Linked DNA regions of Homo sapiens: all the other regions are linked to region 1. Evidence: promoter capture Hi-C in 16 types of primary human blood cells and fetal thymus (Javierre and others, 2016). All regions are on one chromosome and are shown on one strand. Each heading gives the region's core, a stretch centred on a gene start or on the middle of the fragment in contact. The rest is flanking DNA. Distances are from core to core; before and after follow the strand shown. Region 1 holds the start of BASP1 (brain abundant membrane attached signal protein 1). Region 2 has its middle 50 kb from the start of LINC02100. Region 3 has its middle 410 kb from the start of LINC02100. Region 4 has its middle 430 kb from the start of LINC02100. Region 5 has its middle 450 kb from the start of LINC02100. Region 6 has its middle 470 kb from the start of LINC02100. Region 7 has its middle 450 kb from the start of LINC02223.

Evidence for each region. The method cuts DNA at HindIII sites, captures the fragments that hold promoters and counts their contacts. A CHiCAGO score of 5 or more calls a contact.
Region 2: a contact is called between a fragment that was not itself captured here and the fragment with the promoter of BASP1 in region 1, in 1 of 17 cell types (fetal thymus). The highest score is 7.6, in fetal thymus.
Region 3: a contact is called between a fragment that was not itself captured here and the fragment with the promoter of BASP1 in region 1, in 4 of 17 cell types (naive B cells, fetal thymus, monocytes and 1 more). The highest score is 7.0, in naive B cells.
Region 4: a fragment that was not itself captured here is called in contact with the fragment with the promoter of BASP1 in region 1 in 15 of 17 cell types (monocytes, endothelial precursors, naive B cells and 12 more); the score reaches 33.3 in monocytes.
Region 5: a fragment that was not itself captured here is called in contact with the fragment with the promoter of BASP1 in region 1 in 13 of 17 cell types (M2 macrophages, fetal thymus, M0 macrophages and 10 more); the score reaches 52.0 in M2 macrophages.
Region 6: a contact is called between a fragment that was not itself captured here and the fragment with the promoter of BASP1 in region 1, in 11 of 17 cell types (M2 macrophages, M0 macrophages, naive B cells and 8 more). The highest score is 62.6, in M2 macrophages.
Region 7: a contact is called between a fragment that was not itself captured here and the fragment with the promoter of BASP1 in region 1, in 2 of 17 cell types (erythroblasts and M2 macrophages). The highest score is 7.3, in erythroblasts.

What each region holds. Positions count from the first base shown.
Region 1 is chr5:17,215,850-17,220,134 of GRCh38, reverse strand. BASP1 (brain abundant membrane attached signal protein 1) reads right to left here and starts at 2,504. Exons shown (of 2, transcript NM_006317.5): 1 at 2,325-2,504. It overlaps BASP1-AS1 (BASP1 antisense RNA 1), which reads left to right and starts at 2,713. Exons shown (of 3, transcript NR_027253.1): 1 at 2,713-4,058. RefSeq lists an enhancer at 604-1,384 and silencers at 1,419-1,738, 2,229-2,708. The HindIII fragment of the contact is 5,505 bases long and covers 1-4,285 here.
Region 2 is chr5:18,693,862-18,698,146 of GRCh38, reverse strand. No RefSeq gene overlaps it. Among named protein-coding and RNA genes, the nearest start is that of LINC02100, 50 kb to the left of the region's middle. The HindIII fragment of the contact is 6,270 bases long and covers 1-4,285 here.
Region 3 is chr5:18,338,154-18,342,438 of GRCh38, reverse strand. No RefSeq gene overlaps it. Among named protein-coding and RNA genes, the nearest start is that of LINC02100, 410 kb to the left of the region's middle. The HindIII fragment of the contact is 3,927 bases long and covers 487-4,285 here.
Region 4 is chr5:18,317,985-18,322,269 of GRCh38, reverse strand. No RefSeq gene overlaps it. Among named protein-coding and RNA genes, the nearest start is that of LINC02100, 430 kb to the left of the region's middle. The HindIII fragment of the contact is 5,269 bases long and covers 1-4,285 here.
Region 5 is chr5:18,298,616-18,302,900 of GRCh38, reverse strand. No RefSeq gene overlaps it. Among named protein-coding and RNA genes, the nearest start is that of LINC02100, 450 kb to the left of the region's middle. The HindIII fragment of the contact is 6,425 bases long and covers 1-4,285 here.
Region 6 is chr5:18,277,139-18,281,423 of GRCh38, reverse strand. No RefSeq gene overlaps it. Among named protein-coding and RNA genes, the nearest start is that of LINC02100, 470 kb to the left of the region's middle. The HindIII fragment of the contact is 2,822 bases long and covers 448-3,269 here.
Region 7 is chr5:18,257,085-18,261,369 of GRCh38, reverse strand. No RefSeq gene overlaps it. Among named protein-coding and RNA genes, the nearest start is that of LINC02223, 450 kb to the right of the region's middle. The HindIII fragment of the contact is 3,826 bases long and covers 1-3,688 here.

The DNA of each region.
Region 1 (4,285 bases), core at 1,255-3,754:
GGATGTACTGACAGTACTTAAGCATAAAACCCTATTAAACATAACCTACCACTGCAAAAAATATCATATTTGGCTCCTATTTAATATACACAATAAGTCCCTTTTTGTGTGGTAAAAACAAACTACCTGAAAATAAATCTAAATGGCCATAACCTGGAAAATAGATCATCTGAAAGAAAATCAGCCATCAAAGGTATATCATGGCTTCTGTTAGGTAATGGGGAAAAAGGAATCATTGCGAACCTAATCAACCAGCTTCACCCCAACGACTGCCTTCTTTCTGCCCCCATCAGATTTCCATCTGGACGCCATTCGCCTTTTGGAATCCTTAATGAAACAATGAGTTCGGAGTCCAGAGAAAACAGAAAGGGTTAGGATCCCGACAAGGTAATCGTTTTCTTCTCTCCGGTTTTTGTAGGCCATCTTGTTCGAATAAACGCCAAGATGTCTTAATTTTCCCCAGGTGGTGTCACTGGAGGCAACGCCCACTGACAGTTTTGAGGCCACCTTCCCTTAATCAAATGACCAAAAAAGATCTGTCAAACGGTTAATTGATGCAAATTAAGAAAGCCACCCTCACTGCAGTAAGATATGTTACAGGAAAAAGAACAATGAACAGTACTAGAAAGGAAAATAACAGTGTGCGGGTACAAAATATTTAATCCACAATTTGCCTTCATCCTCATCAAGGCAAATCTTAATTTTGGTCAATTGAAATCAGCAAGAAAGCAAAAGATGAGAGACAGCCTGGAAAAGAAGAAACACACACACAGGCGGGAAAAACTGTCATTGGTGTCCAAGGGTTTCCCGCAACATTTAGGGCAAACGCCTTTGTTCCTCGGCTCGGGAGGGGAGTGGGTGGCTGGATGATGGAGATGGGATGGGGCTGCCGGGCCCTCCACACCCTGCTCTCCGGCGCATGCGCGAGGCCAAGACAAAGGAATAGGTAATTACAGTCCCGATTCATTCATTTTGCCTGCAGTATACTGGGGGTCTGTTGGCCCGGGCTGTAATCCCGGGAGGTGGGGGTGGGGGGTCGGTCCACAACCCTATAGCAGAAGGCCATTTCGACGCTAGTGTTGGGTTTTAGCCCGCCCCACAGTGCGAGTGGCCGCGGGGGAGACAGAGGTGTTGTCAACCTGTACAAGGTCCTAAAAAATGCACCCATGTGTGCTGTGCTAATTTCAGCAGAGTGAGAATTACATGGGCAAGGGCTGTCCACCGAGTTCGTTTCAAGGCGGAAATGTCTCTGGGGACGCAGATAAGGAGCCTGGCCAAGCGTTCGATGAATATTCATGAAAAGAATGCGGTTTGCAGCCGCGCATTGTGCGTGCGATCGGATCCAGGATTCCGCAATTTTTATTTTTCTGGAAATGGAGGGGGGACGGGGGCGGGGGGAGCAGGAACCGGGCGCCGGGTTTCAGCTTTAGCGCTTTGGGCAAAAGCTGCTCAACCCCAACCCTACGCTCCCAGCGGGGCTGAGCCCAGTTAGGGCCGCGCGCTGTCAGGTTCAAGCCCACACCCCCCGGGCCCGGGCCGGGGCCGGGACCCAGGGCGGAGGCGCCTGGCGCATTCTTGGAACCAAAGGCTCGAAAAAACAAACTGCTCCGAGGCAGCCCACGGGTTCGTAGGAAGGCAATTCCGCCACTGACGAGGCTGGGGCTCCGATCTGCTCGGGAGGTGCTTCTGAGTGCACGTCGCCGTGTGAACCTCGTATTCCTTGGCCCCAGAACCAAGATCCAGGAGTCCCATGGGTCGAGAAAACCCGTTTGCCAAAGCAAAAAGCCACCCACTTCCTTCTGATCGGGCCAGATTCCCCATCTTCTTTCTCCCCGGACTCCCGCCCCACCCCACCCCCACCCTCCATCTTTGGCTGCTGCGCCCCTCGCCCCGAGCGCTTTCTCCCAGGCTGGTAAGGGCTCCGATGACGGAAGCGCTCCCTTCAGCCCACAGAACCGTCTCCCCGGGACTCAACGCACTGAGGGGGTTTCGCATTCGGCAATTCCTCCCGTCACCCGCAGCTCCTCTCCCCGACAGCCCCCTCCCCCCAGCTCCGTTTACCAACCTCGCCGCCCCCCTCACCCCTCCACCATGCGAGCGGCTGAAGCCTCCCACTTCTGGGCCCCCCATCACCCGGGATCCCCGAAGTGCGACGGAGCCCTCACAGAGGGACCCCAGGCCCTTGCCGTCCAATCCGGGCCCACATCCCTGCTGCCCGCTGCATGAAGGGAGAGCCCGGGGGCTGCGGGGCGGGGCGCGGCGCGGTGGGGGACGGAGGCCCCCGGGTCCGCGGCGGCGCGGGGCCACCGGGCGCGCCTCCTTACCGGCTCTGGGTGCCTATGCAGCCCCTGAGTTAGCGCGGTGCCGCCGAGAGGCCGGGGTCGCTGGCGTCGTCTGGCTGGTGCCTGGCCGCTGGCGGAGGCTCTCTCCCGGCTCGACGGCGGAGCCCGGAGCGAGGAGCCAGTTGGAGCGCTGCCGCCGCCGTCGTCGCCGCTGCCGCTACTGCCGCCGCCGCCGCCGCTGCAGCCTCTGCATTTCTCGCGCTCGCTCCCCCTCCCCTTCCTGCCCAGTGCCCTCCCCCCGCGCGTCCGCCCGCCCAGCCTCCCTCCTCCCGCGCTCCCCGCCCGCCTCTCTCCCCTCCCTCCAGCCCGGCGCCCCGCCCGTCTCCCCTCCACCCCCTCCAGCTCCATCTCCCCACCCCCTGCACTCCCTCTGCTCCCCTCCCCTCCTCCGGCGCAGACCCTCCCCTCTCCCCTCCAGCCTGGACACGCCCGCCTCCCCTTGACTCCCCCCAGCTCTGGGCCCCCACCTCCCCTCCCCTCCAGCACAGTCACCCCCATTTCTCTCCTATCCGCCATCCTGGTTCCTCCCTTCCCCCCACCTCCCAACTCTGTGCCCCGCCAACGTTTCCTAAATGCCCTCTATTCAGATCCCCCCTCCGCCTCCCCTCTCCTCTCCTCCATTCCTGCGTCCCCCTTCCCCCGCCGCGCCGCCTGGGCTGTCCGTGGACTTCTCCCACTCTCTCACTCTCTCACTCACTCTCTCTCTCTCTCTCTCTCTCTCACTCTCTCTCTCTCTCTCCCCCTCATTTATTTGGAACCGTTGGATAAGAAGTGCTCGGGCTCTCGCTCAGACTTAGGGAGCTGCCTCGAGGTGATGAATGACACCCCCTGGCACCAGCTACCCTTCTCAGACCCCAGTCCAGCCCGCTCCCGACGTCGACTACGATTCCGCTACCTCGGCTGGCAGCGAGGTTGGGGTGAGCCCCAGCTGCAGGCGCGTCTGGGCTGCGCCGCTGCAAACGAGTTGCGCACCTTGGGCGGCTCCGCACCTGCACCCGCACCCGCGGGGCTCAGCCCCGAAGGCTGCAGCTTCGGGGGAGGCGCGGTCGCCGAGGTCCAGCTGGTGGGGCGAGAGACGTCGCCCCTCGGAGGATGCTCTCGGAACTTGGGAGAGGAAGGAGGGAAGAGAAGAGGGGAAAGGGGCCGTCGATGTTTTTGATGTCTGTGCTTTAATGGAGGCCACCAATATTGAGAAGACGGGGTTGGCCGAGGCAGCCCGCACGCTGCTGCTTGCGAGCGCTCGAGTCAAAGCTAGGGCCAACCGCGGCTTGTCCGGGTGCCCTAAGGGGGCGGACACTTGGTTTAGCACCGGGACACAGAATAGCCACCGGGGTAGGAAGATGCGTTCACTTTGCTTACCTGTTGGCAAGAGGGACATACAAAAATAACGTAACGTGACATCGTTGACAACGGTAGCTCTTTGATTACACAAAAGCCAATTTTACCTTCCCGCAAAAGCCAGTTGACGCCTTTGGAACTTTTATTTGCGGCATTTTGGCGCCCTCTGGCTGTGTTTGGATCGCTTTCATGCTCGCCTGCGTCCCAGCCAAGAAAAAATCGATGGAGCTGCAGGTTGTCCTCAGGATGGTTCTGCCCTCAGGACCTGGGCGTGAATTCAGGGACAGGGTGGCCCTCCAGAACCGGAGTGACAAACTGTAACCATACTTAGGGAGGCAGACGTCAAAGGCAAGTACATCTGTATTCAACTGGGTAAAGGTAAGTGCATTTTCACTTAACAGGAAAATTAACTTATCGTAACTTTAACGTACATATTTGAATTAAGCAAAGTGGCAATATTTACTCAACTGCACTAGCGATTTTGCAGTGGAAACACTTGACGACCCTACTGTACACATTTACAGGTCATAGGAGGCAGCACCAAATTAGATTAATGCATGCCAGCTGGAAATGTTCAAATTTAAACCAAAGGTAAGAAAAAAGCG
Region 2 (4,285 bases), core at 511-3,010, 1.5 Mb before region 1:
TCTGCACACGAGGAGAAAAACCCACAGACCCTGTAGGGCTGGCCCCTACAAAATGCTGCATTTTGGCTACATGATATGGTTTGGCTGTGTCCCCGTCCAAATCTATCTTGAATTGTAGCTCCCATAATTCCCATGTGTTGTGGGAGGAACCTGGTGAGAGATAATTGAATCATGGGGACAATTTCCCCCATACTGTTCTCGTGGGAGTGAATAAGTCTCACGAGACCTGATGGTGTTATAATGGGAAACCCCTTTCGCTTGGTTGTCATTCTCTGTCTGCCACCATGATTTGAGGCCTCCCCAGCCACGTGGAACTGTGAGTCCATTAAACCTCTTTTTCTTTAATAATTACTCAGTCTTGGGTGTGTCTTTATCAGCAGCATGAGAACAGACTAATACACTACGTTAATGAGGAAGTGCTATAGTTTACTAGGGTTCAGTTTAGTTCAACAAGTTTCCTAAATATCCAAAAGGGGTTAAACATGGTTCTAAGCTATGGGTAAATACAAATTGCTATATTTTAAAATTGCAGGCTGGGCGTAATCCCAGCACTTTTGGAGGCCGAGGTGGGCGGATCACGAGGTCAGGAGATCGAGATCATCCTGGCTAACATGGTGAAAACCCATCTCTACAAAAATTACAAAAATATAAAAAATTAGTCGGGGCGTGATGGCGGGCGCCTGTAGTCCCAGCTACTCCGAAGGCTGAGGCAGGAGAATGGCGTGAACTCAGGAGGCGGAGCTTGCAGTGAGCCGAGATCGTGCCACTGCATTCCAGCCTGGGTGACAGAACAAGACTCCATCTTAAAAAAAAAAAAAAAAAAAAAAATTGCAATAAGCTGGCAAATATAATTGTAAATTAGTATAATAAAATGACTATTTGAAGTCTTCATAAATGAGGGAATATTTTAGCAATATTTAAGAATTATTTGAAATCAATTTCCTAGGGATGGAGATTAAAGAATGTATTCCATGAAGAAGAAACTGCATAGTGTAGAAAGGAGGTGGTTCACGCCTGTAATCACAGCACTTTGGGAGGCCGAGAAGGGTGGATCACGAGGTCAGCAGTTCAAGACCAGCCTGACCAACATAGTGAAACCCCGTCTCTACTAAAAATACAAAAATTAGCCGGGCGTGGTGGCATGTGCCTGTAATCCCAGCTACTAGGGAGGCTGAGGCAAGAGAATCGCTTGAACCTGGGAGGCAGAGGTTGCAGTGAACCGAGATAGCACCACTGCACTCTAGCCTGGGCGACAGAGCGAGACTCTGTCTCAAAAAAAAAAAAAAAAAAAAACCAGAAAGGAGGCATGGAATAATATACCTTTGAAGAAGAAAAAACAGTCTCTCTTAAGGCTGTATATTTCAAGGATTTAATCATTTTAGACAAAGATAATGCCAAATGACCAAATGACCATTATTTGCAGATGTTTTAATGGTCATAAATGTTTTCCTAGGATTTTGTAGAGTGAGAAAAATAAGTTCTTGTAGTGTGGAGCATGATACTTATGAAGACTATTGGGTATAATTGCCAAATAATACACTATTATATATTTCATCTATTTTTAACATAGTTTTATAATTTAAAAATACATCAAATGTTTGGATGTCTTCTAGGAGACAGACAGACTTGAAATTAATTCAATTTTATAAATGATTCCCCTAAGATTAATAATAATAAATGACATGTTTAAAGTATCTAAATTGCAATGTTATAGAAGCAGAACAAAGCCCTAATGTAATAGTAATCCTAGTGGGCTGTAGCAGCTGAAATGAAATGACTTTAAGCAGATTTGGATGGTTATTACCCACATGAAATCCCTTAAGTGACTTTTCCCCTACTCACCCTTTCTTTTAGCAACTTCCTCACACCCCGTGGCCTAGGACTCTAGACATGTTAAGATATGCTAAGGGAATCAAAGAGTAGAACATAGTCATAAATGGCAAATCATTTGACTTTACTACATAAAATGAAAAACTGAAGCACACTCTGTGAAATCTAACAAGTTATGCATTGTGTAAAGATAGGCATTATAAAAAAAACTTTTCCTCTTTGGAACATTTATAAAAGAAATGATATAAACATAAATGACGTCCATGCAATCAGTTTAAGAAAAATATTATAAAAATGTTCTTATTGTCTCACAACTTTGTTAGACTTTATAACTACCTCCATACTAATGAATGTCAATAGTCAGGTTATATTTCTGTTTTCATTCATTTTCTAGTATACTTCAGCCTATAAGGTACATTATAAGGTAAGTATTAGGGTCTTCTCTGTTGAAAGTATTTGTTGTGAAACTAAAATCAGATCCTTACCTAATTTATTTGGTTGCATGTTAATTCTTCCATAAATTATATAGTACAGGATAAATGTGTCAATACTGCTTTCATTAAATAATTTTAAAATTCATTTGCCAATGCAAAAAACAAAGATCTTTTTTAAAGAAAAAAAAGTTATGCAAAGAACAAAATCCATTTTCCAATAAAGATGTTAAGACCACAGTGAGGAAACAAAAAATATTAAAATTATTTGTCAATGAAAATCTGGTATTCACTATATTTTTCTGTTAATATGAATGTCTCAGCATCAGTTTTGTTGGCTCACAATATATTCATGCAATTTCACAGGATGTGGCCTACAAGTTAACTTTTATTTTTTACCAATGAAGAAAAGACAGAAATCTAATATTAAATAAAGAAATTCGTACTAATAAAACTGTGGTAATTCATTTTTAAAATATGTATTCATTTCTTTCTTGCACATTTTTCCTTTCTCTATAGTAATATTTCTTATTCATTTCTTAAAATTACTTTTGGTAAAAAAATTAAAGCAAGTATTATTCTCCATTACACTTATATTGTTGTTAGAATCTCAATGAATAGTTTCCTCTACTTTTCTATTGAATAATTTTATGTAAAATTCATACTGTTTGTGAACACATTTCTTTTAATTATATACCCAAATAATTTTTTCTTAAATATTACTGAGCTGAAATATTTAAATATTAGCTAAAATGTACTATTAGGGAATGATATCCTCAGTTAATGACAAGATATGAGCTATGTAGCCAATTTTATTTCAGGTAGAAATTATGGAAAACCTGCTCCTACTATATATTCTATTATGCCATGAAAATCTGTATCTCTGATATTCAAAATGCATCAGTAAAAAATCCAATAACAATGCAAAATTAGAATAGAATCAGTAAGGTTCTTAGAATGTGATCAAATTAAACTAGGGCCTAAAAGTTCAATATTGTCTCATATTCAAGAAGAATCACCTTAAGGTAAAAGCCAGGACCTCCACAGTTGAATAAAAGGACACAGATCAATGAGTTACATGATGACATTAAAAGACAATGATAAATCTATGTTCATTGCAACAATTGGGCCTATATGAAACCTAAAAGTGAATGTAAAATAATGTGTTTTGTTGAAAACATTATAATCAGATGTATTTGTTGTATTACTAACTGACCCAAAAGATTAGCAGACCCATTATGAAAACCAAGTAATGTTGGTGTTTCACCTCCATTGAATCTTTGAGTGCTTCTTGAGAACCCAGGTAGTGTGATTACATCTAATGTTACTACAAGTGAGGCACTGTAGCTCTTAGCTCTTGGGTCTGGCTGCCATAACTAAATACCATATACTGGGGGGCTTAAACAACAGAAACTAATTTTCTCACATTTCTGTAGCTAGAAGTCTAAGATCACCATACCAGCATAATTGGTTTCTGGTGAGATAATTTTTCCTTGCTTGAGGATGGCAGCCTTCTCTATGTCCTTACATAGTTGAGGAAGAGAGATAGAAAAAGCTCTCTTACGTCTATTCTTATAACCCTATACTGAGGACTCCACCCTCATAATTTTATCTAAACCTAGTTATCTCTTAAATTCCCCATCTCCAAATACCATGGCATTGTGGGGTTAGGGCTTAACCATATAAATTTGGGAGATGGGGACACAATTCAATCCATATAACTGATTATATTAAAATGAGCAACAGAAAAATCATTAGCACTATTTGATATAACATCATGATCTGTTGCCCCTATACTATTGTCTTTTCAAATAAATGTTTACATTGACAGTATTCAATCAAAGATAACTAAGCAGGTCTGAAAATGCACAATATGCCAAAAAATGAAGAAAAGGGGCATAAAAATCTACATTATTAAAAGATCTATAGATGCTCCAGTTGTTGCAGTTAGCTTAAAGAAACTTTGCGGTATACAGAATTTTAAGATGATCAAGTTTCCTGTCCCTGATTTATACATACAGACT
Region 3 (4,285 bases), core at 1,201-3,700, 1.1 Mb before region 1:
AATGAGAAAGCACTGAGGAGGAAAAAAGCAATCTTTTAAAATGCAATCTCTATGCTCTCTATGTTCTGATGCATTATTATCCCCTGTAAGGCTACCCTTTGATGTACATATCATTTCTAGGGTAGTCAATTAAAATATTAAAAGACCCTGGGGCCACATTATGAATTATAATTATTTGAGCAATCTGGTGCTCAGGTAGATAAATGGCTGTGTCAGAAAAAAATAGTTTGGAAATAATTATGCTAGTACAGGAAGAAGTCAAAGTATGTTTCTCTTGTTGAACTCAACACGGCGATGTAATTTCTTACACACCTCTTCGTTCTATGTCAGCTCTTTGAGTCACAGGCTGCTAACTTTTAAATTTTTTCAGAGGAACTCTGCAGATAAGCATACTTATTCCTATTTAAATTGCACCACAGATAAGAATCCCAGTCTATAAAAACAATCTGCCCGTAAATGCTTAACACACACGGCTTTAGAAAAGCTTCAAAGCATTTTCTCCTGCTGCCAGAGTCAACCATAACTTTTCCAATGTGACCCTTTCCAAATCTGATAGCATTTTCTGTGTTGTGCCATGCCAGCAGGCACATGGACCCAATTTGCAATCAGTGGACACTCTGTCTTTGAGGTTTATAAGCATCACTTTAGTACAAGATCTTACCAGCAACAATGAATATCTCATCCTTCCGGCAATTCCTAAGCATCTACATAGAAACATTACATTTGGAAGTTAAGAGATACTTTCCCAGTTAAACATGAGCACTTTAAATCCAAGAATTCAATAAAGAGGCTAGACCAGGCTGGGCAAGATAGCAAGACCCTGTCTCAAAAACAAAAAAATTAGACTGGCATGGTGGTGGTGCATGACTGCAGTCCCAGCTATTCAGGAGGCTGAGGTTGAAGGATTGCTTGAGCCCAGGAATTCGAGACTGCAATGAGCTCTCATAGCACTACTCTACTCCAGCCTGGGCAACATAGTGAGCCTCTATCTCTAACAAAAAAAAAAAATCAATTAAAAAATTCAATAAAAAGAGGAAATTTAATATTCTTTATCACAGTCTCAATACACAACGTATACTAATTCAGTATAAGGTGTAAACACTAGTAAAGCCAGTGGTAGACACTCAAGCAGTTTGATGAATAGCAAATACTTTTTCTGTAGAAAAGAATGAAGTGACTGTAATTAAATTTTATGAGGAATATATGAAAATATTTTAGGCTTAACATGCAAAGTGTAATGCCCAAGTCTTCCTATCCACTTCTCCAACAAATATTTATTACAACATACTATTTCATAAGAACTAAATTAGTCCCTGAAATATATACCAATTTTACAAATGATTCAAATCTTGAAATAATTGCCTGTGAAATTATAATTTAGCTTTAGCTTGAATTAATTTTATAATAAGCATAAGTATTTCTGCATCTTTAATAATTCATTGTATGACAATTAATTCTAATATATATTATGGCTATGGATAAAATTTGATAGCATTTTCTATGTTTATATCTATGTAGATATAAACTTTAATAAAATTGTACATATATGTAATATAATGTATTTGGACGTATGACATTTTCCCAGTTCTTATGAAATATTTTGTAACCCTATTAGATAAATAGACAAACCAGTTTCTTAAATGTTAATAAGAATGACATAGTATATATATATATATATATTTTTTTTTTTTTTTTTCTGAGACTGAGTCTCGCTCTGTCGCCCAGGCTGGAGGGCAGTGGCGTGATCTCGGTTCACTGCAAGCTCCGCCTCCCTGGTTCACGCCATTCTCCTGCCTCAGCCTCCCGAGTAGCTGGGACTACAGGCGCCCGCTACCACGCCCGGCTAATTTTTTGTATTTTTAGTAGAGACGGGGTTTCACCGTGTTAGCCAGGATGGTGTCCGTCTCCTGACCTCGTGATCCGCCCACCTCAGGCTTCCAAAGTGCTGGGCTAACTATAAAAATTTTAAAAAGAAGTTAAATAGCCATTGTTGACTAAATTGATAGACTTTTCTTGCAAGCAGATGCTAATTATGTAAGTTCTAATACTGTAAAGAACATATTTTTTCAGTAATTTATAACGCAGCCAGGATGTTACTTCAGTAGCTAATGTCTTTGAATACTATAAAAACAGAAATAAAAGAGGATGCACTCTTTATGGGGCTTCAGTTAATCTGAACACACCTGGAGACAACAGATTCAGCTTGCTAAAAAGCCTTTGTTCGCAGGCTCGTGTCTTCTGCTGGAGTCCCTGCCTCCTTGCAGAGCTTGCGCTAATGACTCTCCACCTCTGACATCTGTGGTGGCCTGAGTGCACTTCCAGAGATACACACCAAAATCAGGTAACTTGACCCTATATCCTTTTAACACTACTGACACAATAAATTCTCTGGTGCTACAATTTATCTGGACAAGAAAATAAATACGTGGTATATAAACTCATACTCCTTGAGAACAAGAAGCAAGAAAATGCTACATAAACTTCCTCTTTCTGTTTTCTGCCCTATGGTTCAAAGTGGATGAACACCTTTGTACTTAAAAGATTATGGACATGCGATGACCACAGGTGTCATTTCCCAAGCCTCTGTCTTCTGCCAAGAACCTGAGAACTCTAAACAGATGCTGCCCACAACTAATTATTATACATTAATTTCTTTCTTTCTTTCTTTCTTTTTTTTTTTTTTGAGATGGAGTCTCGCTCTGTTGCCAGGCTGGAGTGCAGTGGCACAATCTTGGCTCACTGCAACCTCTGCCTCCCAGGTTCAAGCGATTCTCCTGCCTCAGCTTCCTGAGTAGCTGGGACTACAGGCGCACACCACCACGCCCAGATAATTTTTGTATTTTTAGTAGAGACGAGGTTTCACCATGTTGGCCAGGATGATCTCGATCTCTTGACCTCATGATCCACCTGCCTCAGCCTCCTAAAGTGTTGGGATTACAGGCGTGAGCCACTACACCCAGCTATACATTAATTTCTGTTGGAGAGTGCACATAATATAAATTTCTGCTTTATTGAAACACAACTGGAAACATAAGAATATACAAAGTAAAATGAAAGAAAACACACCTCGGAAAACAAAAGAATCACTGATTATGGTGGATATTCTCTCTTGGTCTCTAAAATACTAGTAAAATTACTGAAAATATGTATTTATTCAATTTAATAAATATACATACAGGAATATATTTAATGAGCAAGTTGAATTTATTACACTGATTCTTAAAAAATTAAAACTCAAACTTTGGAAGTGGTTATTTCAAATATAAAAGTGATTTAGATGTACAAATTCAAATGTTTTTGTTAGCTTCAAGAACATGAAGCCTGGACAACATGGTGAAACTCTGACTCTACAAAAAATACAAAAATGAGTTGGATGTGGTGGTGCATCCCTGTGGTCCCAGCTACTCAGGAGGCTGAGGTGGGAGGGTCACTTCGAGGAAGGTAGAGCTGTGATCATGCCACGACACTCTGCACTCCAGCCTGTGTGACAGAGCAAGACCCTGTCTCAAAAAATAAAAATAAAAATAAAAATAAAATAAAAATCTGAAACAATTTCTGCAGCATCACTGTTGTAATATTGTGGTACTTTATGGATGTATATAGCCCCTGGTAATTTCAGAAGTGACAGGAATCCTACAACTTTTAAAAGGTTTCTTTGGATGTTTGTTTTAGAGAAAAAAAGAATCAGTGCCACCATCAAGTACTACCATTATGCTTCCATAAGTGACTGCAATCACTAATGGGCATGACTCCAGAAACATAACATTTCTCCTAAGTACATGTGGACCCTCCCCAGGGATTTCAAATCTGCTCAGGACTTAGAAAGTGGCATTAATGAAATGTCCCATTTAGCCAGAAAGTAAATACAGTGTTTATAAAGATCATAGGATATAATCAGTATATATCATAGGGTCGTAGGATAGATCAGTGTACAATACAGTGTGTATAGGAGAAGTCGTTTACATGAGTCCCCCCAAAGCCCACTTTTGCCATTTATAAATTCTATAATCTTAGGTATCTGATATTTAGTTTTCTTATCAGTTAAGTAGGCATAATTATGTTGCCTATTTTAACATTATGTGGTAATGAATCTGAAAATGTATAAAGATGTGTGTCGATTTTTAAACAATTCCTTTTACCCTCAGATATGTATCTGTACTATATATCTACACAAATCTGTATCGGTACGGACACTATGAAAAGGGATGCTCCCAAACTATCCCTTATACAGTGCTTGTACTCAAATTTTGTGAATGAAGTAGAAAGAGTTGATTTCCTGCACTCT
Region 4 (4,285 bases), core at 833-3,332, 1.1 Mb before region 1:
GGATTACAGGCACGCACCACCATGCCAGGACAATTTTTGTATTTTTTAGTAAAGACGGGGCTTTGCCATGTTGGCTAGGCTGGTCTGGAACTCCTGACCTCAAGTGATCTGCCCACCTCGACCTCCCAAAGTGCTGGGATTACAGGCATGAGTCACCACACCCAGCCCTATAAATCATTTATCTATATACATCACATTCTTTATCTTGGCTCCGGATCAATATCTTTAGAGTTTTCCTTTGTGGGTGGTTTTGAGGATCTGGTGATCTGGTGATAAACTACCCATGTCAGTTTCTAACATCATTCTTGACCTTATAGACTGACTTGTCTCCTGATTTCCTTCATTTCCCTGCCTTCTTTTTCTGCTTACTGATCTGTGCAATTGGAAGTGCTGAGAAGGAGATTGACAAAGAAATGTGCATGTGAAATGCAGGCATGGGGAGGCAGGAGCAGTGCTGAATGATGCACTCTAAAGAGCATGGATCATGCAAGTCTGCAGAGTAAATGCAAAGATATTACATCAACTGACTATACAATACCAACCATACCTCAGAGCAGGCCAAGGCATGTATTACAGCCTGTTTCACGAATTCTTAAGGGATCCTGGTTTATGCATAACCAGGGGTCTGCACAGCCTGGACAATGTCAGAAGGTTGGTTAATTTCATGTGTCAACTTAACCAGGCCATGGGGTGCCCAGGTATTTGGTCAAACGTTGTCCTGGGGTGCCTGTGAGAACGTTTCTGTACGAGAAGAACATTTGAATCAGTACAATGAGTAAAGCAGATTGCCCTCCCTCCTGTGGGTGGGCCTCCCCCAGTCAAACTGAATATGTAAAGAGAACAAAAAGCTAAGTAAGTGGAAATTCTTCCTGCCTGACTACTTAGCTGGTACATCATTTTTTTTCCTGCCTTCAAACTCAAACCGAAACATAGCCTCTTCTTGCATCTTGAAACTGCCAGTTTTCAGGCTGGAACTACAGCAGAGGCTCTCCTGGGTCTCCAGCTTGCCTCCATCATCCCATGAGCCAACCCTTTACATATATATATATGTCAATGACTGACTAATAGAATCAGGAAGACAAGCCATTACACGCTCTGCATTTATATATAGGAGATTTTCAGCATATGTCTCAAAACTTGAAATATTCAATTATTAAAATGCTAAATTCTTTCTCTGTATATTTATAGCACTTAAAAATTGTTTTAGGCTGGGCATGGTGGCTCACACCTGTAATCCCAGCACTTTGGGAAGCCGAGGCGTGTGGATCACCTGAGGTCAGGAGTTTAAGACCAGCCTGGCCAACATAGCAAAACCCCGTCTCTACTAAGAATACAAAAATTAGCTGGGCGTGGTGGCATGTTCCTGTAATCCCAGCTACCTGGGAGGCTGAGGCAGGAGAATTGCTTGAACCTGGGAGGTGGAAGCTGCAGTGAGCTGAGATTGCACCACGGCACTCCAGCCCGGGCAACAGAGTGAGACTCTGTCCCCCCAAAAAATTGTTTAAAATCACTTATTAAATTTTTCTTAATATTCATACGCTTCTTCTGCACAGAAGTATATTTCTGGGAGCAGGCACCAAGTTTTACCTATTCCTTAAATAAGCCTGCCATGTTTACACAGACATTGCTTATAGAAGATTCTTGGTTATTATTGTTTGCATGATTATTGAATAACTCTTGCCTTCAAGCTGGTTTTGTGATTTGTACTCTAATTATTGTTTATAAAACTCATAGTCAAAAAACTAGTGTGCTTCCTCGGGCTGTGGATACAAAACATATTTTATTGATCTGATTGATTCTTTCTTCTCCAACTGTTGCATTAGGAATTCCAGCATCCCCCTTATAGCAAAGCATCAGTAAAGATTATATCTACTCACTTGTGTAAAAGAATACTTATTCCTCATGTATTCTGTATCCCAGGGATAGGTAGTTCAAGAAAAATAGGTCAAATACATTACACTAATAGGAGACCTGGGAACCTGAGTTTCTTCTCAGAGTCAGTATTTGACTTCCATTCTGAAAGTCACCCCATGTTTCAACACGGCTGCTGAAGCTCCTATCCTCATGTTTATTTCTCAGGCCAAAAGAATAAATTTCAAAAATCTTCTATTAAATAAATGAATTCCTTTTATAGCATTTCCAGATGTCTCATAAATCTTATCTCTCTAGATTTTATTTTCCAGAATTTAGTGATGTGGCCACACTTAGCTTCAAGGAGGATAAGGAATATAATCTTTTATTCTGGATAGCAGCAGGACTCCACAAATCAAAGTTCTGCTATTAGAGAAGAAAACAAGACTTCATAGTAGTCTGTGACTTACCAGTCCTCAACTATGTCTGTGAATCTGTCAAACACATGCTTCACTTGCTTTCACAGAACATTCCATAATCATCCATGATGCCTTCCTCTCTTGTTTTGAATTCCTCCTTGTCAAAATATAATGTCCTGGAAATCACTCCTGGGCACCATCATTTCCAATGCAATGTGCCATCAGAATGTGAACCTCAGTGTCTAGCCTAAGACTGTTCTAAACAGATATTCCCAAAGCCCCCATTTTCAAAGTTCCAGAGCAGATCTTAATTTTAGGCTGCATTGGGACGAGTGGTTTCGGTCCTAACTTAATATAGCTGTTTTAATCTGGACACAAAGGCAACCTGTTTATGCTCAAGCTCTTGGAGATTTCTTATGCAGCGTTTCTTTCCTTTCTGACTTTGACACTTTTCTTTTAAAAGGCTCCACTAGAGCTCAAGAAATTGAATACTGCACAGAGGTCAGGTTCCTATCTCACTCTTCTCCTCAAACCTCCTTTCTCCAAAACAGAGCACAACTCAAGCATGCCAACGCTGAGAGATGGGAGTAGGAGCTGACTCTTCTTCAGGTTCTGGAGAGTAGCCCACTGTGAGCCTTTCCTGATTATTTTCTCTGGGTTACAAAAGGGCAAGTGATTCCTTCTGCACCAAATTTGCTTCTCCTCAAAATGCTCTCTTACAGGTCATAAAAGCAAACTTTGAAAGCAAAGATATTCCACTACTAAGAGTTCAGACATCATATTGGTAGGAGATTGTCATATGATTAGACTAGATTTTAGAGGCACATATAAAAAATACATTCTGTTTATAAAAACACTTAGGTAGTTACAGAAACATAAACATAAATGTGAAAGCCTGAGGTTATGTTCGTTTTTCTATGTTCAACTTTTAAATGATTAAATTTAATCTCATGAAATATTTATCATATATTAATTGTTATATTCCTTAATCATATTAATATAAACATGTTAGTGTGGATAGAATAACCCGCTTATTAATTATTTCAGAGAAACCTATCAATTTGCTTGGTTCCTTAACAGCCAAATTTTAAACACAAACTTATATCAACAAAAGGCTCGCAAAGGGGAATAGAGATAGCAAGAAAAATATTTCGGAAGCAGTTTAACTTCTATGCTTAAGGGAAAACATGTTGGGGTTGGATCAGCTGTTCAAATAGTGTCTCAAACCCTCACATTCTCTGTGATTCTGGAAAAGTTAATTAACCCCTTTGTGTTTCTCTCAGTCTAAGAAGTGGAAATAATAACACTATGTAGCTCTTGAATTATTATACATCAATATCTTAAAACAGCACCTGGTGCACATTAAGTGTTGTATAAGTATTAGCTATTATCGTGATTAACTTGAAAACAATTGGGACACAATAAAAAAAATTCCCAACTGACGCTTGATGGCAGAAAACTTTAGCCAACTTTTTTATTTGCATAGAAGATATCAGTGTAACCCCATTAGAATTCTACTTCCACCAATGATAAAAAGGATAATAGCTACTCACCCCCTCAAATAAAAGCCTATGAAAACATGAAGAAACAAACAGTTATCATAATCAAATACCTTCTCTGTGCCCAGCATTTAGAGCCACAACTCCATGGCCTACTATTCACAATGTGATTTATATGAGTTGAATGCCATGGGTACCACTAACATAGAATCCAGGGTTATAGGTAGCCCTTGGAATTGTATGACACAAGAGTCATGGCATGATGCCAGCAATGTACATTATGCTACAAGTTTACTTGGAGAAAACATGCTTTTCAAGACTAAGGAACTTGCCCAATGGAATTTTTTCTTTTAGACAGAGTCTTGCTCTCTTCCCCAGGCTGGAGTGCAATGGCACAATCTCAGCTTACTGCAAACTCTGCCTCCTGGGTTCAAGCGATTCTCCTGCCTCAGCCTCCGGAGTAGCTGGGATTACAGGTGTGCACCACCATGCCCGGCTAATTTTTGTATTTTTAGT
Region 5 (4,285 bases), core at 572-3,071, 1.1 Mb before region 1:
AATATGTCCAATGTCACAAAATTAGTCGCAGAACTAGAATTCAATAAGCCCATGCTCTTTCTCTGGTTAAACCAAGGGTCTTTCAATGCCATGAACAATGCTTGCAAACCAAATGTAGTATTTGGTCCCACAAATTACTGTATCTGCTTACTGTCAGATATAATAAACATCTTATCATAACTCTAGATACTACTTTAACCTATTTGGTTTGTGCTTTATTGACAGCATCAACTCTAAAACATAATCTCTTCTTGAAAATATATGAAATTTACCTACAGCCATCTGACCTTCGACAAAGTAGACAAAAATAAGCAATAGGAAAAGGACTCCCTATTCAAAAAATGGTGCAAGGATAGTTGGCTAGCCATATGCAGAAGAATCAAACTGGATACCTTCCTCTCATCATATGCAAAAATTAACTCAAAATTTAAAAGATTTAAATGTAAAACCTCAAGCTATAAGAATCCTAGAAGAAAACCTAGGAAACACCATTCTGAACATTGACCTCAGAAAAGAATTTATGACTAAGTCCTCAAAAGCAATTGCAACAAAAACAAAAATTGGTAGGTGGGACCTAATGACACTAAATAGTTTTTGCACAGCCAGTGAAACTATCAACAGAGTAAACAGATAACCTATGGAATGGGAGAATATATTCCCAAACCATACATTTGACAAAGGTCTAATATCCATAATCTATAAGGAATTTAACAAGCAAAAAAAAAAAAAAAAAAAAAAAAAACCATTTAAAAATGGGTAAAAGACATGAACAGTCATTTCTCAAAAGAAGTCACAAAAGTGGCCTACAAACATGAAAAAAATGCTTATGTCACTAATCATCAGAGAAATGCAAATGAAAACCACAATGAGATACCATCTCACAGCAGTAAGAATGGCTACAATTAAAACGTCAAAACACAACAGGTGCTGGCGAGGCTGCTGAGAAAGGGGAACACTTACACATTGTTGGTGGGAATCCAAATTAATTCAGCCACTGTGGGAAGCAGTTTGGAGATTTCTCAAAAAACTTAAACTAGAACTACCATTTGACCTAGCAATCGCATTACTGGGTTTATATACAAAAGAAAGCAAATCATTCTCCCGAAAAGACACATGCAGTCATATGTTCATTGCAACACAATTCCACAATAGCAAAGGCATGAAATCATCCTAGGTGTCCATAAATGGTGAAATGTATAAAGAAAATGTGGTACATATACACCATGGAATACCACGCAGTTCTAAGAGAATGAATTCATGTCCTTTGCAACAACATAGATGCAGCTGGAGGCTATTATTCTAAGTGAATTAGCACAGGAAAAAAAAAAAAAAAAACAAATACCACATGTTCTCACTTGTAAGTGGGAGCTAAATATTGGGTACTCAGGGACATAAAGATGGTAACAACAGAAATGGGAAATACTAGAAAGGGGAGGGAGTAAGGGAAGAAAAGGTTGAAAAAGTGTTGAGTACTATGCTCACTACCTGGGTGATGGGATCATTTGATCACCCCAAACTTCAGTATCATGCAGCACACCCAGGTAACAAACCTGCACATGCACTCCCTGAATCTAAAGTAAAAGCTGAAAAAGAAGAAAATAGGTGTGAAACAGATTATAATTTCTTATGGCAACAGACAATCTCATTAAACATCAGATCCAATAATTCATTTTTAAAATTCTAATTAGGTATTAATCTACACACTTTAGAAAGAGGCCAGGAAATTAAATTAGTTTTAAAATTTAACAACGAAATAATTATAAATAGTATGTGTACCCTATTTTGCAAACAAAATAAAATTATCATTTTATTCAAATGGTAATACCACTTGTGATTGTCAAATAAATGTTTCTTCTCAGTGACATTACCATTTGAATCAAAATGATTATTCAGTGAATTCGCAATCTTCACTCAGTCTCCATTTTTAGTTTGTTGGATTAAAAAAATGCTTCAAGGCTTTAAATCCTTCCAATGTAGTAGACATCAATGTTTTTTCAGTACAATAAGATTTTTCATTATAATTGTTACTTCACTATTTCACCTGTTTAAAATTAATATCTAATATGAGTATATATATATAAATAATTATTTATGCTAGGACTTAACTACTTCTGAAGTACTTTTTTTCCTACAATAAAATAAAACTGCTTCCCATGGAAGAACTTGTCCTGTGATTCTCTATGAATGACAGAATGAACATACATGTACTAGCATCAGGAAAAACTCAAATTGCCAGTGAATTAACTCGTTGAACTCATTGTTCTGTGTTGCTTTACTCTGACAGACAGTGTATGTTTCTACCTTAAACTATGTCATGTGGTCAGAACAAGACATGAAAATAAAGATCTAGTCTAAGGCCCAGCCTATAAAACATCAGAAAATAAAACAATATGGACGAATGTAATTCAAAAGTTTCTATAAAATTTGTTTCATCTCTGTAATTCTCTTTCATTTTATTTGCTTTTTAGAAATTTCAAGTTAAGGAAATTCAGTTGTACTTGTTTCTGGCATGTGGGCATTCCTCTAAAGATGCGATAAACAGAAAAACAAAGTCTGCCATAACCATTCAAAGCAGGAAAGGGCAACCTCGAAAAACATACTTATAATGATATTGATGCATATTTTAATAGAAAAATAAAACTTATTTTAGGGAAATCTCTGTTCTGTTCTAAAAAATTCCCTCTTTGTGAACCCTTGAATATTTAAAAACATTTAAGAAATTGACCCCTCCATTTATATTTTAATAAGAACCTTATGGCTTATATTTATATCATCTGTTCATTAAATAGGTCATCACTTTTAAGAAGCCAAATATTTCAGTTACTCCTGGCTGCAGAGCAGTCATTTTAAGTCTATAAAAGAAAATACAGGAAAAAAAAAAAGAATTAGTATCTCTGGGTGTCAAGATTAACTTAAAGTTTCTCCCTAGACATTATGTCAACAGATCTTCTTCCCTTCCTTCAATAGAAGCAGTAAGAAGAATTTCATGAGCCTATAAATTTATTACCCCTAGAGATGTAAAAAATGGATTAAAACTCTTCAAATTCCTTCACACCCTTCCCTATTGTTGGAGATACAGACAAAGCAGTGATGACTTATAATGACAATGTGTTTATTAAGAAGAGAGAGAATGGTGGTATAAAAGTTAGATATGGAAAGTGTGGAGCAGGTATAGCTTAAGCTCTATGGGCATAATTATCTTAATTGAGCAATGCACTAGAAAATGATTATCTAATTCACTGGTTCTCAGCCATGGTTACACATTAAAATCACCTGGAATGATTTTTTTTAAGAAAACACCCAAGCCTGAGCCCAAGTCTGAGCACAAGTACTGAGGCTTCTGACTAATTTATTGTCAGTTGAAGCCTGATATGGTTTATCTCTGTGTCCCCACCCAAATGTCATGTTGAATTGTAATTCCCAATGTTGGGGGAGAAACCTGGTTGGAGGTGATGTGATCATGAGGATGGATTTCCCCCTTGGCTGTTCTCATGATAATGAGAGCATTCTCAGGAAATCTATTGTTTTAAAGTGTGTGGCACTTCCCCTTTTGCTCACCCTTTCTTCCTCCTGCTCCACTATGTGAAGATTGTGCCTGCTTCTCATTCACCTTCAGCCATGACTGTAAGTTTGCTGAGGCCTCCCCAGCCATCCCTCCTGTACAGTCTATGGAACTGTGAGTCCATTAAACTTCTTTTCTTTATAAATTACCCAGTCTCAGGTAGTTCTTTATGGCAGTGTGAGAATGGACTAATAGAAAGCCTAATATTCAATGTGTAAATTACCCACTCCCCACACCTGGTGTTTGTAATGGACAGCTAGGAATAAGAATCACTGCTCTTAATTTTGATAAACTGTTCAAGTCATAATATTGCTCCAATTTGTAGGGAAAATTTACAAGGTTTGATTTATCTTCTTGATTGCTACAGAATATTTTTCACTCATTTAGATTGACCACCTATCCGTGTGGCTTACCTAAAAGATGTTGAAAGTATATCAAGCCCAACAGGAAGGAAGAATTAGGAATATAAATGATGGTTTATAGATGAGGCAGTTGATTGTTTCATTTACCTTTGTGAAGAGTGATGAAGGAATGGAGACGTTACTTTAACTTAATAGAGACACATTTTGTTTAATTATAAATTATGTGTCTTATGGAAGAAAGATAAATTAGAAAACCAAAAGAATTTTTGCCAATATTGAAACTCAATTGAAGAGATAGTTATGAAGTAACCTGGGCAAATGATTTAGGACAATAGAATCATTTTTTTGGAAAAATGTTTTT
Region 6 (4,285 bases), core at 609-3,108, 1.1 Mb before region 1:
TAGAGGCATGGTCCCTATGAAAGAACACTCTTTCCATGTGTAATAAAAATGCACACACACACACAAATCACAATCACAAACACAAACACAAACACAGAAAGAAATAGACCAGCCATTGGATCACTTCTGTATCATTTAGGGTGTCCTAGATAACAAAGATTTGAGCAAGAGGAGGTTTATTTTGTCTACGGTGAAAAGCCCAGACATTGACTCTTTGTGGATTGATTCAGTGCTTAATGATGTTGTCAAGACTGGTGTCCTTCCTATCTGCCTCTGTTCCATCCAACTTGTAAGCAACTCTCCTTGTGGTCACAGGTGGATGTAGTTTCTCCACATTCCGCCTGTCCATGCAGCTGACTTTCCGATTGTGTGTCCCCTCCCATTAATGAAGAAACATTTCTGATAAAGCCCTCAGGAGTTACCACTTTACATCTAGTTGTTCAAGCTTATGTAAGAGTATCTAAATCATCTCTGGCAAGGACTTTTGGCATGGGCATTACCAAGATTTGCTTAAACTAAATAATACTTCTCTCCTGGTTGTGGGATGGAGTTCTGCAGCACCTCATCTCATCACAGGTAGACAGAATCAGGGCACAGAAGAAGAGGAAGCAGCGTAGTTGGGTCAGAGACCACAGATGACAACTTTTTTATGTTCTGTTCTCCTACCACCGCTTTAATGAGTTCTTCCCTGACCATGCAAATGCATCCCATCCCGGTTCCCATCACACCTTCCATCATGCTTCTGCACATTTACTTACCTCTTTTACTCAAATAACATATTCTCTTTCAAGAATATTTTGTTTATTATATCTTTATCCCATTTCCTTTTAGAAAGTAAGCCCTTTCTGGAGCAAAAATACTGTCTGTCTGCTCATGACCATGTTCCCAGTACCTAGGAGCATTCTTCACACACACTAAAGGTAATTAAGAAATAATGGGACAGACATGGTGGCTCATGTCTGTAATCATAGCACTTAAGGAGGCCAAGGCAGGGGAATCTTTTGAAGCCAGGTGTTTGAGACCAGCCTAGGCAACATAGCAAGACCTCATTTCTGTGAAAAAAAGACAAAAACAAAAATCAACTGGGCATCATGGGGCATACCTGCTGCCCCAGCTACTCAGGAGGCCAGGGTGGGAGGATGGGCTTAAGTCTAGGATTTCAAAGTTGCAGTGAGTTATGATTGTGCCACTGTATGCCGGTCTGGGTGACAGAGTGAGACCTTGTCTGTAAAAAAATTTTTTTAATTAAATAAAAATTAGAAACTCATTCATTAAACACATACATACACCCATGTACACAAGCACACACACATGCAGAGAGAGAGAGGGCAGAAAGAATGAGAGAGAGAGAGAGAGAAACTGCTAATGAGGGAAAAATGTGGGCTTTTTCTAGCCCATGGCTTTCCCATTCAAGCACAGCTGATAAGATGCCCAAGAGAGCATTTATTAGTAATGGAAAATGGAGTAATCATAAATATTTGCAGAATAAATATAAGAAAAACTGGTGAACTTGTAAAAGAAACTATGACTATTAACATGTAATCTAATTTTAATTCTATAAATAAATTACATTATACGCTGAAGTAAAGGGGGATTTTCAGACTTCTTTTGAGCAATGTTTGAGGGTGGGAAATGCCCTGGAGGCCTGTATTAGGAAAGTGTTATTTCTCACTCATACAGGAAAAAAACAGTGGATTTTACAAATAATAAAGTTAAAGTGAACTGAAATATCAGGAAGAACAATTGTATATATGGCCCATTGGCTTTCTGCTGAAAAACATAACTAGGTAGTTTTCATTAGACACACCGAAGTTCAGTTAAAAAAAATCAAATGTTTTCATATTTTACATGATTTCTGTTTTACTAATACAAGAAACATTTTGTAAGCACAGTATGCAGAGGCAACAGAAAGGTGTTTTAAATGGTCTTTCATGATATTCTAGCCAATAATGAGAAATATGTGTTGCTTTTAAGGTGAATTGGGTGGATTGGTCATTCCTAGTTTAATGTTTAACTGTTTGATCAATGAAAACAGTGAAATAACCTGGAGAGGGGTTGCTTCTAGGATTTTGTCTCAGGCTATAATCTTGACTTTTTCTTCCTCAATATTTTAATAAAAGAAGATATAAAAATATTTATCATATTTAAGTTATATGTGATTTTTTTTACAGATAAAAATGATTATAAATAGAACTTCAGGATCTGGATAAATGAATAAAAATTTAATTAACCGAAAATAAGATTTAAGTAATAATCTTTATTCTAAAAATCAATTGCTTATGTGTAGGACTAGAGATGGTATGGGATGGCCTAGTACATGACGAACTGCCTTCTGCATTTCCTTAAATATTAAACTCATAGTAGTGAGGTGGCTAGAAAAAGAGAAGCCAATATGGTAAAACCCTATCTCTACCAAAAATACAAAAATCAGCCGGCTGTGGTGGTGGGCGCCTGTAGTGCCAGATACTTGGGAGGCTGAGGCAGGAGAATCGCTTGAACCTGGGAGATGGAGGTTGCAGTGAGCCAAGATCATGCCACTGCATTCCAGCCTGGGCTACAGAGCAAGACTCCATTTCAAAAAAAAAGAAAAGAGAAGCCATTGTGTATCCAATTATGAATAAAATCTATCTAAGAGTCAATGGTTTTTTCTATTCTGTTCAGGTCACAGTATATGGAATATTACAAAAAGAGCAAAGGTGTGCTAGATTACGTGACAGCCAAATAATTTTGTATAGAGCACAATTAATGTTTCTTTCACAGATGTTTCAGTTACACATCTGAAGGTGGTATTACACGTATATATCCCGGCCCACATGCTCTCTTTACAATATGAAATGCTCTCTCCCCCATCAAGGAATAGGATCTATGTTGCTTCCCACTGAAACTAAGTGAATCTTTGTAAATACCTTGACCAAGAGTTCAAGTGATGCTTTATAACTTCAGAGGCTACATCATAATATGTCTTCCATCTCTCTCTCTTTTTTTTTTTTTCTCTCTCTCTCTGGATATGTGCTTTGGGAATGTTAAACTGACACATAAGAAGAAACACTACCTTGAAGTCTTTCCGCTGGAGAGACCACCTGGGAAGCCTCCATAGAGATAAAGAAGATTTAGGGAGGTCCAGGGAGGTTCAGCTGGGTTATCCCCAGCTATTCAAGCCCTCCCAGGCCAGATATGTGATGGAAAATCTTACAAGATGATTCCACGCTAAACCATTTTCTGACTGCAGTTTCACAAGAGGCACTAAGCCAAATCTGCTCAGCCAAGCTTCTACCAAATTGATGTCTGATAGAAGAGAAGCAAACTGTGAGAGCTAATAGAGTAGGCAGAATAGTGTCTCCTCCAAAGGTATCTACATCCTCATTCCTGGAAGCTATGGCTATGTTAGGTTACAGAGCAAATGGAAATGAAGGCTGCAGATAGAATTAAGATTCCAGCTCCCCTTAACATGGGAAGATTATATGGATTATCTGAGTGAGTCCAATGTAGTCGCAAAGGCCCTTACAAGTGGAAAAGGGAAGTAGGCAAATAAAGATGTGACCACCCAAGAAAGACACAGTGTTGCTTACTTAGAAAATGGGAAAAGGGGCCACTAACCAAGGAATATAGTGACCTCTAGGAGCTGGAAAGGGCGAGGAAATGGATTCTGTCCAGAGCCTCCAGAAAGGAATGCAGCCTTTCTAATGTCTTAATATTAGCTCAATGAGACAAATGTCAGACTTCTACAGAATTGTAAGACAGATTGTAAATTTGTATTATTTAAGCCTCTAGGTTTGTGGTTATTTGTTACAGCAGCATTAACAACTAATACAGATTAAAATTATTATTTTTACTTTAAGGTATTACATTGCAGCTGGTTTGTTATACATCATTAGATAATAACTGGAACGGAAGAGCAGTTTTTGTCTGTCATTAGATAGTGAACTTTTTGAGCGGAGTCATATTTGTATCCTGTTGGCCTGGTGCTGAATTTAAAAGATATAATGCATATAATTAATGCTGAATGAATAAGTAAATATCAACAATGATCAAATTATTGTATTAGAGTTCTCCAGAGGGACAGAACTAATAAGATGTATATATACATGAAAGGGAGTTTATTGAAAAGAATTGGCTCACACGATCGCAAGGCGAAGTGCCATGATAGTCTGTCTGCAAGCTGAGGAAGAAAGCCAGTAGTGCCTCAGTCTGTGTCCAAAAGCTTCAAAAGCAGGGAAGCTGACAGTGCAGCCTTCAGGTTGTGGGCCCTGGCAACCACCGGTGTAAGTCTAATAGTCCAAAGGCC
Region 7 (4,285 bases), core at 526-3,025, 1.0 Mb before region 1:
AACCCGACCTTTCTCTCTGGCTGCCCTTAACGTTTTTCCCTTCATTTCAACTTTGGTGAATCTGACAATTATGTGTCTTGGAGTTGCTCTTCTCAAGGAGTATCTTTGAAAACTGGCACAAGACAGGGATGCCCTCTCTCACCACTCCTATTCAACATAGTGTTGGAAGTTCTGGCCAGGGCAATTAGGCAGGAGAAGGAAATAAAGGGTTTTCAATTAGGAAAAGAGGAAGTCAAATTGTCCCTGTTTGCAGATGACATGATTGTATATCTAGAAAACCCCATTGTCTCAGCCCAAAATCTCCTTAAGCTGATAAGCAACTTCAGCAAAGTCTCAGGATACAAAATCAATGTACAAAAATCACAAGCATTCTTATACACCAATAACAGACAAACAGAGAGCCAAATCATGAGTGAACTCCCATTCACCATTGCTTCAAAGAGAATAATATACCTAGGAATCCACCTTACAAGGGACGTGAAGGACCTCTTCAAGGAGAACTACAAACCACTGCTCAATGAAATAAAAGAGGATACAAACAAATGGAAGAACATTCCATGCTCATGGGTAGGAAGAATCAATATTGTGAAAATGGCCATACTGCCCAAGGTAATTTATAGGTTCAATGCCATCCCCATCAAGCTACCAATGACTTTCTTCACAGAATTGGAAAAAACTACTTTAAAGTTCATATGGAACCAAAAAAGAGCCCACATCGCCAAGTCAATCCTAAGCCAAAAGAACAAAGCTGGAGGCATCACGCTACCTGACTTCAAACTATACTACAAGGCTACAGTAACCAAAACAGCATGGTACTGCTACCAAAACAGAGATATAGATCAATGGAACAGAACAGAGCCCTCAGAAATAACTCCGCGTATCTACAACTATCTGATCTTTGACAAACCTGAGAAAAACAAGCAATGGGGAAAGGATTCCCTATTTAATAAATGGTGCTGGGAAAACTGGCTAGCCATATGTAGAAAGCTGAAACTGGATCCCTTCCTTACACTTTATACAAAAATTAATTCAAGATGCATTAAAGACTTAAACATTAGACGTAAAAACATAAAAACCCTAGAAGAAAACCTAGCCATTACCATTCAGGACATAGGCACGGGCAAGGACTTCATGTCTAAAACACCAAAAGCAATGGCAACAAAAGACAAAATTGACAAATGGGACCTAATTAAACTAAAGAGCTTCTGCACAGCAAAAGAAACTACCATCAGAGTGAACAAGCAACCCACAAAATGGGAGAAAATTTTCACAACCTACTCATCTGACAAAGGGCTAATATCCAGAATCTACAATGAACTCAAACAAATTTACAAGAAAAAAACAACCCCATCAAAAAGTGGGCGAAGGACATGAACAGACACTTCTCAAAAGAAGACATTTATGCAGCCAAAAAACACATGAAAAAATGCTCACCATCACTGGCCATCAGAGAAATACAAATCAAAACCACAATGAGATATCATCTCACACCCATTAGAATGGCAATCATTAAAAAGTCAGGAAACAACAGGTGCTGGAGAGGATGTGGAGAAATAGGAACACTTTTACACTGTTGGTGGGACTGTAAACGAGTTCAACCATTGTAGAAGTCAGTGTGGCGATTCCTCAGGGATCTAGAACTAGAAATACCATTTGATCCAGCCATCCCATTACTGGGTATATACCCAAATGACTATAAATCATGCTGCTATAAAGACACATGCACACGTATGTTTATTGCGGCACTATTCACAATACCAAAAACTTGGAACCAACCGGAATGTCCAATAATGATAGACTGGATTAAGAAAATGTGGCACATATACACCATGGAATACTATGCAGCCATAAAAAATGATGAGTTCATGTCCTTTGTAGGGACATGGATGAAATTGGAAATCATCATTCTCAGTAAACTGTCACAAGAACAAAAAACCAAACACTGCATATTCTCACTCATAGGTGGCAATTGAACAATGAGAACACATGGACACAGGAAGGGGAACATCACACTCTGGGGACTGTTGTGGGGTGGGGGGAAGGGGGAGGGATAGCATTGGGAGATATACCTAATGCTAGATGACGAGTTAGTGGGTGCAGCACACCAGCATGGCAGATGTATACATATGTAACTAACCTGCACATTGTGGACATGTACCCTAAAACTTAAAGTATAATATAAATAAATAAATAAATAAAATTTTTAAATGCAAAAAAAAAAAAAAGATACTTGCTTCTCCAGCTAGTGGTTGTAACAATTACACACATTTATATTCATATCCATCCTTTTTTGGATGCTGTGATGTTGGCTTCTGTATTTCACTATTGACCAAATTACCAGTATTTACTTCAGAAAGTTGATATGAACTGAACGTAGATTTCTAATTTATTTTTTGGTAAAATCTAAATTTGTTTTTATCAATCAGGATTTACAATAGATTTTTTTCAAGTTTCTGTACCTTATTTTCAGACGTCTCTGCCAGATTATTTTTACCTCCACACCAACTCATTTTGGCTGGGATTCTCAGAGTGAATATACTCTGAATATCATACCTATGACTACCTCTATTTTCTGCATTTAATGCTTTATCTCTTTATTTTCCACCATGTTGAGAATTATGATATCATTTTTCAAATGTGTATTCTTCTTTGCACTTTTTTGTTTGTATTAGATATTTTTAATGTTGCTATTCTTTCTTCCCCACTGCTTTTTTTCTCAGATGAATGAAAGGACCCTTTAGAGGAAGCACAATTGTACTACAGTCCAAAAGATGTTATCCTAAACACCAGCATCAGCACCCTGGCCACACGGAACTATTCTGCTCACTGACCCAGTTCTCTTGGGTTATAATTTATTGGTGACCTTAATAGGACCAACCTTTATATTTTCATCACCCAACTCAATAAGGTATCTTAACCTACCACCACTTTTTTCCAAATTGAAGCCAAAGCACAGCATCTTTTATTTACTGGCTAACAATAGATGGTATGCTATTCCATAGACTCCTGCTATCAGAGTCTGCATTCACAGCAATTATCTTTACCAACAATTTCATTTTCTGCATTTTCCCTTGTGTAATGTGCTGGCAATTGTGTGTGGTTGGGTTCTCTATCCAAATGGCTTTCAAGCTGAACACAGACCTCAAATTCACTTAAGCATCTGGACAGCATGGGAATTATCCATTACTTAGGGGAATCTCACATGCTGCATTTCTATTAGTGAGATAGCATGTCCTTCCCAATCTTAGAAAAAAATGATTTAAAGTCGCTATGCATATGAGCTCAAAACAAACAGCATTTTGAATTCCACAAATATATTAATGTATCCTGAAATCTTTCAGCTTCTTCCAGTGTAGTCAGAGCAGTGAAAATTGAATTAAGATCTCTCTAATTGAGGTATATTTATTTCACTTAGATATCCATATGTCTCTTCCTTTTCCATTGTATTCTTTTTTTTTTTTTTTTTTGGCTGGCACAAAGGATATGTATATGTTATTGAGATTAAGAAGAAAAAAGTATTCTATAATGTTTATAATGCCCAAAATTATAGATGTCAAATGATCAGGCAAATAAACTGTTCTTTATGTAAAAATTACCAAATAAATTAACATGAAATATTCATATTTTACCTCCTCTAAGCCAAGGAATGAAAAAAAATAGGATGATAAAAATGTGTTAAAAATAAGCTTACATTTTCATGGTAAAAATATTGTCTGTTGAACAGATATTTTGGGGAAAAGCAGAGGTGGAAATATTAAAGACGCATTCATGCACTCTCCTCAGTATAAAAGAGACACATTTTTATTCTTACAAAATGGAAAGAACTTATATCTATATATGAAACCTCACTATTCTGACTTAACCTAAAATTACATTTACACGTCTCCTTATATATGGGGTTTTTATTTTGCAGAATGTTTTATATCTTTTCTTTATCCCATTTAGAAGAAAATGTGAAACACTTCTCATGACATTATTCTTTTATAAATGGATACAGACCATTTTATTTTACTGAGCAGTTTTAATTTATGTCTTTTAAATTTTCTACTGGTGGATATTTACATTTGAGAAAGAGATTTCTAGTTGTCCCCAGGGACTGTTCCCCCATTATCCCATAGAAATGAGAGTTTTATTTGCATATCCCCATGTCTTGGCCCCTTCCTGAGTCCTGTGATGTCGTGTGGAATTGACCATGCAGGTGAGCACAACCTCCTAGAGAGTTTGGAGGGGCAGTCTGAACAGAGCTTGAAATCCTGGAAAAATTGTGGAGCCGGGTCATTATATC